2 separate regions of the Homo sapiens genome follow, and region 2 is linked to region 1. The links are contacts of gene promoters, found by promoter capture Hi-C in blood cells and fetal thymus (Javierre and others, 2016). All regions are on one chromosome and are shown on one strand. The core of a region is centred on a gene start or on the middle of the fragment in contact, and the rest is flanking DNA. Distances in the headings are between cores, read along the strand shown.

What was found. The method cuts DNA at HindIII sites, captures the fragments that hold promoters and counts their contacts. A CHiCAGO score of 5 or more calls a contact.
Region 2: a fragment that was not itself captured here is called in contact with the fragment with the promoter of IP6K1 in region 1 in 2 of 17 cell types (megakaryocytes and endothelial precursors); the score reaches 7.0 in megakaryocytes.

What each region holds. Positions count from the first base shown.
Region 1 is chr3:49,783,503-49,789,094 of GRCh38, forward strand. It overlaps IP6K1 (inositol hexakisphosphate kinase 1), which reads right to left and starts at 3,040. Exons shown (of 6, transcript NM_153273.4): 1 at 2,852-3,040. RefSeq lists silencers at 2,654-3,003, 3,739-3,903, 4,684-4,893 and enhancers at 2,718-3,407, 3,494-3,563. The HindIII fragment of the contact is 18,469 bases long and covers 1-5,592 here.
Region 2 is chr3:49,829,954-49,835,517 of GRCh38, forward strand. TRAIP (TRAF interacting protein) reads right to left here. Exons shown (of 15, transcript NM_005879.3): 11 at 1,963-2,115; 12 at 67-115. Among named protein-coding and RNA genes, the nearest start is that of UBA7, 19 kb to the left of the region's middle. The HindIII fragment of the contact is 6,901 bases long and covers 1-5,564 here.

The DNA of each region.
Region 1 (5,592 bases), core at 1,790-4,289:
GAGATCGAGACCATCCTGGCTAACACGGTGAAACCCCGTCTCTCCTAAAAATACAAAAAAATTGGCCGGGCATGGTGGCAGGTGCCTATAGTCCCAGCTATTTGGGAAGCTGAGGCAGGAGAATGGCGTGAACCCAGGAGGTGGAGCTTGCAGTAAGCCAAGACCATGCCACTGCACTCCAGCCAGCGCAACCGAGCGAGATTCCGTCTCAAAAAAAAAAAAAAAGAAAGAAAGAAAAGCTAATATTTTAATATCCCCCTCCTTTCAAGAACTGCCCAAGGAACTGGTCTTACCAAGATTATAATGAACTAAAGATTCAAAAAATGGCCCTGAAGGACAATGAAATAAATAACTAAAGACTACTCAACTTCTCCCTTGCCTCACAAGTGCAGTATAAACTCAGTCGAACAGCAACAAGCTGCCAGCGTCCTCTGGGTTCAGCACCTGCTTTCCTAAAGGATCTCCTGACCAAGGAGCTGGTTTCTTTCAAAATTATTATTTTATTTATTATTTATTTATTTATTTATTTTTGGAGACTGAGTCTCACTCTGTCACCCAGGCTGGAGTGCAGTGGCGCGATCTCAGCTCACTGCAACCTCCGCTTTCCGGGTTCAGGTGATTCTCCTGCCTCAGCCTCCATGCACCACCACGCCCAGCTAATTTTTGTATTTTTAGTAGACATGGGATTTTGCCATTTTGGATAGGCTAATCTCTTAACTACTGACCTCAGGTGATCCGCCCGCCTCAGCCTCCCAAAGTGCTGGGATTACAGACATGAGCTACCGCACCTGGCCTCTTTCAAAATTATACATTCAGAGGTGACAAGATCCTGATAGAAGTGCACAAAGTAGGCTAGGCGCGTGACCAGGCACAGTGGCTCACGCCTGTAATCCCAGCACTTTGGGAGGCCAAGGCAGGCGGATCAGGAGGTCAGGAGTTCGAGATCAGCCTGAACAACATGGTGAAACCAGGTCTCTACTAAAAATACAGAAATTAGCCGGGCATGGTGGCACGCACCTGTAATCCCAGCTACTTGGGAGGCTGGGGCAGGAGACTTGCTTGAACCCAGGAGGCAGAGGTTGCAGTCAGCTGAGATTGTGCCATTGCACTCCAGCCTGGGTGAGAGAACGAGACTTCGTCTCAGAAAAAAAAAAAAAAAGTAGGCTTGGCGCGGTGGCTCATGCCTGTAATCCCAACAATTTGGGAGGCGGAGGCGGGTTGATCATGAGGTCAGGAGTTCGAGACCAGTCTGGCCAACATAGTGAAACCCCGTCTCTACTAAAAATACAAAAATTAGCCAGGTGTGGTGGCACGTGCCTGTAGTCCCAGCTACTCGGGAGGCTGAGGCAGGAAAATTGCTTGAACCAGGGAGTCAGAGGTTGCAGTGAGCCGAGATGGCACCACTGTACTCCAGCCTGGCAACGGAGCAAGACTCCATCTCAAAAAAACAAAACAAAACAAAACAAAACAAAAAGTGCACAAAGTATTGTCGCTTGACTTCTTAGTCATCTCATGCAGGCATATTCTATGACCACATACAAGAAGACTGTACAAAGAACCAAAGAGGCCACAGGTCAAGAGAAATGTGTTTTGGAGCAATGAGAACTCTTCCTAGACCTGCACACTCTACTGAGGATCTCCAACTTGCCCAAATTCACAGGAAAGGGGCTTGAAGGTGTTTTCACTGAGCAAGATAATTTTAGTACTGTTAAAAGTTAATTTGCGCCGGGCATAGTGGCTCACACTTGTAACCCCAGCACTTTGGGAGGCCAAGGGGGGTGGATCACGAGGTCAGGAGTTCGAGACCAGCCTGGCCAACATGGTGAAACCCCGTCTCTATTAAAAATACAAAAATTAGCCGGGCATGGTGGCGCGTGTCTGTAGTCCTACCTACTCGGGAGGCTGAGGCAGGATAATCGCTTGAACCCGGGAGGTGGAGGCTGTGGTGAGCCGAGATCGCGCCACTGCACTCCGGCCTGGGCAACAGAGCGAGAGACTCTGTCTCAAAAGAAAAAAAAGAAAAAAAACAGTTAATTTGCCAGTTCCATATCATCCACAACAAAAACAAGTTTCTTTTTCCGATTCTAAGACACTCCTACGTTTCCTTTGTCTCCTATGGCGAGCATCCCTTTAGGAGATAAAATCAAGTCATCACCATAATACTCACTTTCTCCTAAAGCAAAAAGAGGAAGACATTACCACTCTCCAAAAAGTGGTGGTGAAGAACCAAAGAAATTATGTTCCAAAATAAAACTCAGCCATTATGGACATTTAACCAGGTTCTTTGCGAGGAAAACGGTGAGCTTCGAGGTACACGTGAGGTTCCGAACGGGTCTCAGGAAGCAGCAGCCAGGCAGAGGGTCCCCCTTGCCATAATCATAGGGCCGTGACACCGGCCTGCCTGGCTCGCGGGGGCTTTGGCTTGCTTCGTCTAGTCTTAGCATCCAGCGTCCTGAAAATCACTCGCAGGAACGCTATCTAAGAAAGAGGTAAGTCTATTTCTCAGCCAGGAGCAACATAACTCCCAGGAGAGCATCAGGGTGGCACCGGACACACTTTAGCGCTCCGGATCAGCGGAGTCCAGAGCTTCGGTCAGAGAAGCTGGTTTCCCGCTACTAGCCGGCCAACCCTCAGGCACTGGCGCTCTCCGTCCTCCACACCGGCTGTCCCCCCGGCTTCGGTGCCAGCATCTGGGAGGCTCGGCGGGCGGCCGGTCAGGACGCTCGAGCGATGTTCCAGTGATGGCCCCACCGGAGCCCCGACCCCACACGCGCCCACTCCAACCCCGCGCCCGCCACCGCCCTCCCCGCGGGCGTCAGGCCGGTCTATCGGCCCGGCTCCTGTCACTCACCTGCCCGGCCCGGGCACCGAGCGCCCACGGCTCCCTACGGGAGCTGGGCCCCCCGGGCCTCCAGGTTTCGGCCCGCCCCCTGGCAGGCAGCACAGGTGGCTGAGCACCGCTACAGCGGCCTCTCACCGGCCGCTTGGTCCAGCTCCCGGCGCTGCCCACTGGGTACGGATCAACAACAAGATGGCGGCTAGCCGAGGGGGCGGGGGCCGGGCGTCATAGTAACCAGGACTGCAAAGAACCCGCCCCCGAGGGGGTGCTATCCCCAATCAACAGTCTTTTTGCTCGTCGCCAGGGGAAGTGCTTCCTGCTGACAGGTCAGCTCACGTGTCAGTCAGAGTCTGCCTCTCAGGGCCTCTGCCGAAAGCGTGGGGCACGTGACTGTGACGGCATGGGTTGGCGCATGCGCTTCGTTCCCGGAGTGGCTGGCGGCGGAGTTTTCGCTGGCTACTACGAGGCCGGAGCGCCCTTGGCCTCTCTGCGTCCCTGGCCCTCGTGCGGTACCGGCGGCGTCTTGTCATACACTTGCGCACACACAGGGAATCTCAGCGGTGTGCTATTCGTTTTTTTGTCCCCCACTCTGGGAGAAGGGGGGTGCAGCCCCCAGTTCACTCTGGAGAGGAAACTGAGGCTCAGAGAGGGGAGGCCGAGCCAAGGTCACGCCACCTCTAGAAATGGAGGTGCTGGGTCTCGCACCTCCTCCTGCTGGTTTCAGAGTGTGAGGAGCCTCTATCCCAGCTTCCCACGCTTTGTCCCTTACTAGCCTCGAGGTACCGCAGTCTGTGCTGCCACAGCAGCCTCTGGCTCATTGCCCATGCTTTCCTGCCTGAGGTTTAGAGCCTAGCACAAGTCCTGACACACAGCGGGCACTCCCTTTTCTCTTCCCTAGAGCATCTTGTCTTGAGATCCTGTGACAGCATCTTTTGCCCTGGACTGTCATGACCGGCCTCCCAAGCAGACTAATGGTCCCAGGAAGATGGTCACACCTTGCTCCCCATACAGAACACCTAACTCTGGGCTTGGCTTCAGGCTTAGAACAACAGATGAAGTTACGTGGCCTGGGCCCACACCCAAATGCCCCAACTAGCTAACTCTGACTTTTGAGCCTTAGCCTCTCTTTAGCTTTGGTTGTCCCATCTGTAAAATGAAGATAAAAGTGGAGCTTCTCAGAGGAAGATTTAATGAGCCCTCAGAGCAGGGGAAGAACTCAGGAAAAATCTGCCTACAACCACTTCCTGGAACAACCTGCTTCCAAGTTGCTGTTCCTGAGGCGTGCCTTAAAACACTAACTTTGGTGGAAGCCCCATGAAGCGTTTTTGTTTTGCTTTGTTTTGTTCCCACAGAAGGCTTTCAGCTTCTTCCTGGCCCTGGGATACCATAACTGGTTCAGAAGGGGAGGTCCTCCTAGCTAGGCGCAGTGGCTCATGCCTGTAATCCAGCACTTTGGGAGGCCAAAGAAGGTGGATCACTTGAGGTCAGAGGTTCGAGACCAGCCTGGCCAAAATGGTGAAACCCTGTCCCTACTAAAAATACAAAAATTAGCTGGACGTGATGGCAGGTGCCTGTAATCCCAGCTACTCAGGAGGTTGAGGCAGGAGGATCACTTGAACCTGGGAGGCAGAGGTTCAGTGAGCTGAGATCACGCCACCACACTCTAGCCTGGGTGACAGAGCAAAATTCTGTCTCAAAAAAAAAAAAGGGAGGTTCTCCAGTACCCTGAGGGGGTTCAGGCCCACAGACTCAACAGACGAGTAAAGACTGTGATAACTTGGATTTACCACAGTAAGGTCCTCTTGGAGAGCTGGCAGAAGCCTGAGACCTGATGTCAGGTTGGGCATGGAGAGTGGGCCAACACTGCATCCAGCAAGACCTGCCCACCAGCAGATTGCTGCAGGCCACTTGGCTACATGCAATAGCTCAGGTCAACACAGGGAGATGTGAGAGCAGAGGAACCAGAAGAAACAGATCAGGAAGAAAAGCCAACAACCCTCAAAAGGGGGATTCTGCTAATCCTCCAGGACCAGCCATGCCACAGGATTCTCAAGTCTGCATCACCCCTCACCGCAGTGCAAAAGCTCCAGATCCTTCCCAAGAAAACCTCCACATACAGTTGGCAAATTGCCCTGAAGTTTGATGGGACCCTCAAAAAGCAACAGTGGTATAACTACTGTGGATAACAGTTCGGAGGTTCCTCAGAAAACTAAAAATACAGCTACCACATGATCCAGCAATCCCACTGCTGGGTATGTACCCAAAGGAAAGGAAATCAGTATATCAAAAAGATATCTGCACTTCCATGTTTGCTGCAGTGCCATTCACAATAGCCAAGATTTGGAAGCAACCTAAGTGTCCATCAACAGGTGAATGGATAAAGAAAATATGGTACATATGGGCCGGGTGCGGTGGCTCACGCCTGTAATCCCAGCACTTTGGGAGGCCGAGGCGGGCGGATCATGAGGTCAGGAGATGGAGACCATCCTGGCTAACACGGTGAAACCCCATCTCTACTAAAAATACAAAAAATTAGCCGGGCGTGGTGGCAAGCGCCTGTAGTCCCAGCTACTCAGGAGGCTGAGGCAGGAGAATGGCGTGAACCCAGAAGGCGGAACTTGCAGTGAGCCGAGATCACGCCACTGTGCTCCAGCCTGGGCAACAGAGCGAGACTCCATCTCAAAAAAAAAAAAAAGAAAAGAAAATATGGTACATATGCAGAATGGAATATTATTCAGCCATTAAAAAGAATG
Region 2 (5,564 bases), core at 975-3,474, 46 kb after region 1:
ACCGTGCCCTCCCAAAAGTCCAGTCCTGCCAAAGGTTAGACTGTGCTTCTTCTAGAAAGCTCTTACCTTCCTGGGGCCTTTGCATATCTTCTTGGGGACATCCTGAATTGGGGAGCTACAAGAATGAGAGAGAAGGCAAGGGGTAGGTAAGCAAGACATGGGGGCAGGTGAACCAGGCTCAGCACACGCCCCTTGGGGAGTTACCATGTGGCACTGCTGCTGCCATGCCTGCATTCTGGGCAAGGCACCTCAGTGATCCCACCCCAAGTGCAGGTCTGTTAACAGCTGGACAGCCACAGCCAGTAGGGTGGCAGAGACAGGGATGACTGGGGATGACTGGACCATGTCCCAATCCTGTGGCTTCCACTCAAGGCCAAATTCCAACGCTCCTCAAGTCCTCGGGCACCTCACCATGTCCCAGGCTCTATATGGGGCTGAAGAGCCCAATCAACTCACCACCCACGGGAGGAAAGCCAGTCATGCCCTGATACGAGCAAAAGAAATTTAATGAGCTCAGGCCTAGTCCTGTCTTCCCAGAGAGGGGACACTACCTCCACGAGAGCCTCAGTAAGTTAGCCTTTCAGTAAAGTAGCCCACAAAATCCTCTCAGAACACAGGGCCAAGCCATCTCCCTAGAGAGTGTGTCTAAGAAGGGCCTGGGGCAGAATAGCGCATGGCCCCAGGCCCTGGTCTCCCAATCCCAGCCCCAGAGCCAGAAACTGTATTTCCATCCAATTCCTGGGGAACCCAGCAGCTGGATACCCTCTCCTGGCATTTTCCCTGGTGGGTGAGAAGATGGTGATCTAAGGCTGGCCCTGTGGCTTCTCAAGCCATAAGGACAAGAGTGGGATCAGGGCCTGATGACTGACTCCTCTGCTCCTGCCCTAACGGCCTGTGGTAAGGCTACATGACAACCAAGGCTCCAGGAAGGACGAGCTGAGTTAGGGACTCAGAACTTCACTACCTCCTTCACTACCTCCACAGGCCATGAAGGTGGTGGAAATGTCTCTGAAAGGCCTGGCAGCCTGAAGACCCCAGGTGTCCACCTTCAACCTTTACAGCGGAAGAAGGGCAATGGGAGGAAGCCAGAGTACACAGCAGACACTGACAGGATCCCTGAGGACTACAGCCCACGGGTCCTAGGTTTGTTTCTCATTGCTACCAGGCCTCGCCCTCTACAACAGGGGTGCCCATGCCCCCTGAGGTTTGGGAGGTAGGACAGCCCAGCTGGCTTGCCCTCTTGCTCCCTTCCACCTCCACTGTCTAGCATCTCAGTTTCTTTCTCTTTCTCTTCTTTCTCTCTGTACAAAGTCTTTGAAAAAGAGGAAACCTGCCCAGCCCTTGACCAGCCTCACCTGAACAGTACCTGTATGAATGAGTATAGTCCTTGTCTCCACAGTGAATTACACTTGGCAAAGCTGGCCAAGGAGACAGCCTCCCTTTTTCTGGTCCCACCGTACCCCAGAGCAGGTTCCACCTGCCCCACTGGAATTCCAGACAGCTTCTCATGCTTGCCCCTGTGGGTCACCCCCTTGGGTGGTAAGGCCTTGGGCTCTGTGGTTTGAGATGATCCTCCCTCAGGCATGAGCCTCAGAGGCAAACATAGAAGAGGAAGTTCAGAGTCCCTCGCTCAGGACTCTGGTGGGCAGGCCTTCAAGGTATTGGGAGCACCCTCTCCAGCCCAGACCCACCCCTTCTGGCATCACTGCATTCTCTCTAACTTGCATTCCAATACGTTTGCCTTGAAAGGTGATGGTGAGGAATAATGAGAAAAGAGAAGGGGTTTGCACAGATTGAGTGCTCAGGTGAGGGAACAAGAGGTAGCTGGAACCAAAGCCATGGCCAAGCCTAGGCAACCCTCACTGCCCCATCAGCCACTCAGAGCTAACAGCACAGGGCCTGCAGAGCTGTCTTAGCTATCCCCCTACCAGCCCATGGACAGTGCCAGCGACTATCACTCACTGTGACTTCTCTAGGCAAAGTTTTTCGTAGTAACCATGCTGGGAGCTGGAGGGCCGGGCTGGGGGAGTATCCACATCAAAGGTAGCATTGAGATCAATATCATCACGGAAGGATGGCCGGCGGAGCTTCAGATTCACCTCCACAGGGGCTGGGCTGAAGGCAGAGATGACCTGGTTACTTGGGGCCACAGTGGTAACCCAGGACAACAGCTCCTGAAGCATCAGAGATAACTCAGCTCCAGGGACCTGGAGCCCACTCCTGACTCAAGGCCACCCCTCAAGAGAGCCCTACTCTCGGCCAGGCACAGTGGCTCACGCCTGTAATCCCAGCACTTTGGGAGGCCAAGGCGGGTGGATCAAGCGGTCAAGAGATCAAGACCACCCGGGCTAACATGGTGAAACCCCATCCTACTAAAAATACAAAAATTAGCTGGGTGTGGTGGCTTGTGTCTGTAGTCCCAGCTACTCGGGAGGCTGAGGCAGGAGAATTGCTTGAACTCGGGAGGCAGAGCTTGCGGTGAGCCGAGATCGCGCCACTGCACTCCAGCCTGGGCGACAGAGCAAGACTCCGTCTCAGGAAAAAAAAAAAAAAAAGTTTAAATTTAATTTAATTTAAAAAGCACACAAAACTCCATGTATAGTGCAATTACATGATTTGGCACCCCCCCACCACTCCCACATGCAGAAAAAGGAGAAGGAAATATTCCACATGTCAACCATAAGTACCTCTATGATAACTCCCTATTTTCCAAATTCTCAATGAGTGTGTTTTTACTTTTATAACACGGGGGGGGGGGGGGGGTGGGGGGTGGGGAGTGAAGTTTTATTCTATTAAAACTACAGCCGACAGGATTCTTCCAGCCCACCCAGACCTGGCAGGGCTCCCCACCTCCTGTCATACAAGGAGAACCCTGGGGAATGGCAAGGGTAGCTCCAAAGATGCCTTCTCTCTTTCCTTCCTCAGGAACTTTTCAGAGCTGCACCACAATCCCACTTCCACTGGGGTGTACACATCAGAGGGAGGAAGCCTACCTGCATTGATTTGGGTGGCTAAGCAATCCAGGCAGCCTGGACTATTTCTTCCTTTCCCTGTCCAGGACCCTAGAAGCTCTACCTCTGTCCCCGCCTGCAAGTTAAAATGAAGACTGCACAAACCCACCTCAAACCAACTCTAGGCTGGCTGCTTTGCTTCCTCCTCTGGGAACCACAGCAGCCAGGACCACTCATGCCAACTTTTTTGCAGTATCCATATTCTGCCACCATTTACCAACCCCAGCAAGTTGAGGCTCAGGTTAGGAAAGGTAAACTCAAGAGGAAGGCAGGATCTCGCTGGGTCCTGTAAATTTTACCCTCCAGGTGGCTCAAGGCAGGACTTTCTACTCCCAGCCATCCCCTAAGGCGTTGCCTAGTGGTGCCCAAGCTCAAGGCAAGCCAGGCTTATTCACTTGCACCTCCTGGTCATCCACAACACTAAACTCAAGACTCAGGAGGTTCTCACGGTGCCTCCCTCACTCCCCATATCCACATCTGGATCATATGGACACATTTCTTCCTCTCTTAGACTGTTTCTTTTTTTTTTTTTTGAGACGGAATCTTGCTCTGTCACCCAGGCTGGAGTGCAGTGGTGCGATCTCGGCTCACTGCAAGCTCCGCCTTCCGGGTTCAAGCCATTCTCCTGCCTCAGCCTCCTGAGTAGCTGGGGCTACAGGCGCCCGCCACCACGCCCAGCTAATTTTTTGTATTTTTAGTAGAGATGGGGTTACACCGTGTTAGCCAGGATGGTCTCGCTCTCCTGACCTCGTGATCTGCCCACCTCGGCCTCCCAAAGTGCTGGTATTACAGGCATGAGCCACCGCGCCCGGCCTTGTCTTAGACTGTTTCTATATTCTTCTTCCTTCATGAGCTTGAAGCCTATTTCCCTTTCTGCCAGGGGTCCACTTTCTTTCCTTCCCACTTTCTGTTTGTCCTACAAGGAGAAAGAACCTAGGGCTTAGTAGTCCTTCCCTCACTGGTTGAGGCTGGCTTGAGGCCCTCCTGAGTGACACTATCACCCTTGGGACACCCACCCATGGTCAAGTTACAGGGCTTCATGCCAGAGGCCTCAGGGAGCCAGGCAAGACACTCAAAGCTCCCCTTTCCAGAACAGAGCTAAGGCCTTGAGCAGCCCATTGCCTGCGTGGCATGGGATTAGTCAACATCTCCTCCATGAACTCATGGCTCCTGGCGGCCTTACCCTACCCTAAGGAAAGGTCTCCCTGGCTGTCTCTAGCCTGGAGTTCAGGGGCCCTTGGGGCCCATGAGAGAGATCTTCCTAACATTGACTCTGTAGTTGGGGGTGGTGGCTACATGCTGATGCCTCCCTAAAATGACAGGTATGAAGGGTAATCCTACTGCAACAAGTAGAAGGGGCAACCACCATCAGCCCCCAGAGATTTCCAAAAAATTCTGGGAGACAAAGCATGGCCAGGGGACAAGAGACTGACACAGCAGCCAGAACCCACAAGGAGGGGGTCCATGAAGGAAAGGGAGGGCCTTGCAAAAGCATTAAACAGGCCTGAAAACTGGAACACTGATGAAATTGTGAGCTTGGCTCCACCCCATCCTAATCTGCATTGGTAGAACACTAGGCAGTTAGGCTGCTGCCCTGGGCCAATAAATAGAAGAGCTTTTCTCAAAGACACTAAACAAACTATGTACAATGACCTAGGGCAGCCAATATTATTGGACCCAACAGTAAAGCCTTCTGCATCCTGGGTTCAGGTAAGACTCAACATGATGCCAGCAGTCTGCACATCCCCCCCAAACCCTACCCACATAGGTTGGCCTCCAAAGTAGCCAAGGACCACCAGGTATGGGAGGGGAGCCCAGGAAAAAGTCCATGGTGCACAAATACTGACTCTGAGACAAACAGAAATATGAGACCATAAAACAAGAACATGATGCTTTGCAAAACAGACATACTCAAAGAGCAAGAAAGAATGCTTGCAAATTTAAAACATGAATACTGCCAGGCACAGTAGCTCACGCCTGTAATACCAACAATTTGGGAGGCTGAGGTGGGAGGATGGCTTGAGGCCAGGAGTTCAATACTGACCTGGGCAACATATTAAGACTCTATCTCTACAAAAAATAAAATTAAATAAATTAACTGGGCATTGTGGCACATGCCTGTAATCTCAGCTACTTGGAAGGCTGAGGTGGGAGGATCCCTTGAACCCAGGGGGTGGAGGTTGCAGTGAGCCGAGATCGTGCCACTGCACTCCAGCCTGGGCAACAGAGCAAGACCCTGTCTCAAAAAAAAATTAAATATGATTACTGATTCAGCCCTAAAAAGGAAGAAAATTCTAATACATGCTACATGGATAAACCTTGAAGACATTATGCTAAGTGAAATAAGCCAGTAATAAAAGGACAAATATTGTATGAGTCCACTTATATGAGGCTCCTAAAGTAGTCAAATTGATAGAGACAGAAAGAATGGTAAGTGAAGGAGCTGAGGAGAAAGGGGAAAGGGGAGTTATTGTTTAATGGGTATAGAATTTCACTTTGGGAAGATGAAAACATTCTGGAGTGGGATGGTGGTGATGGTTGCACAGCAATTAA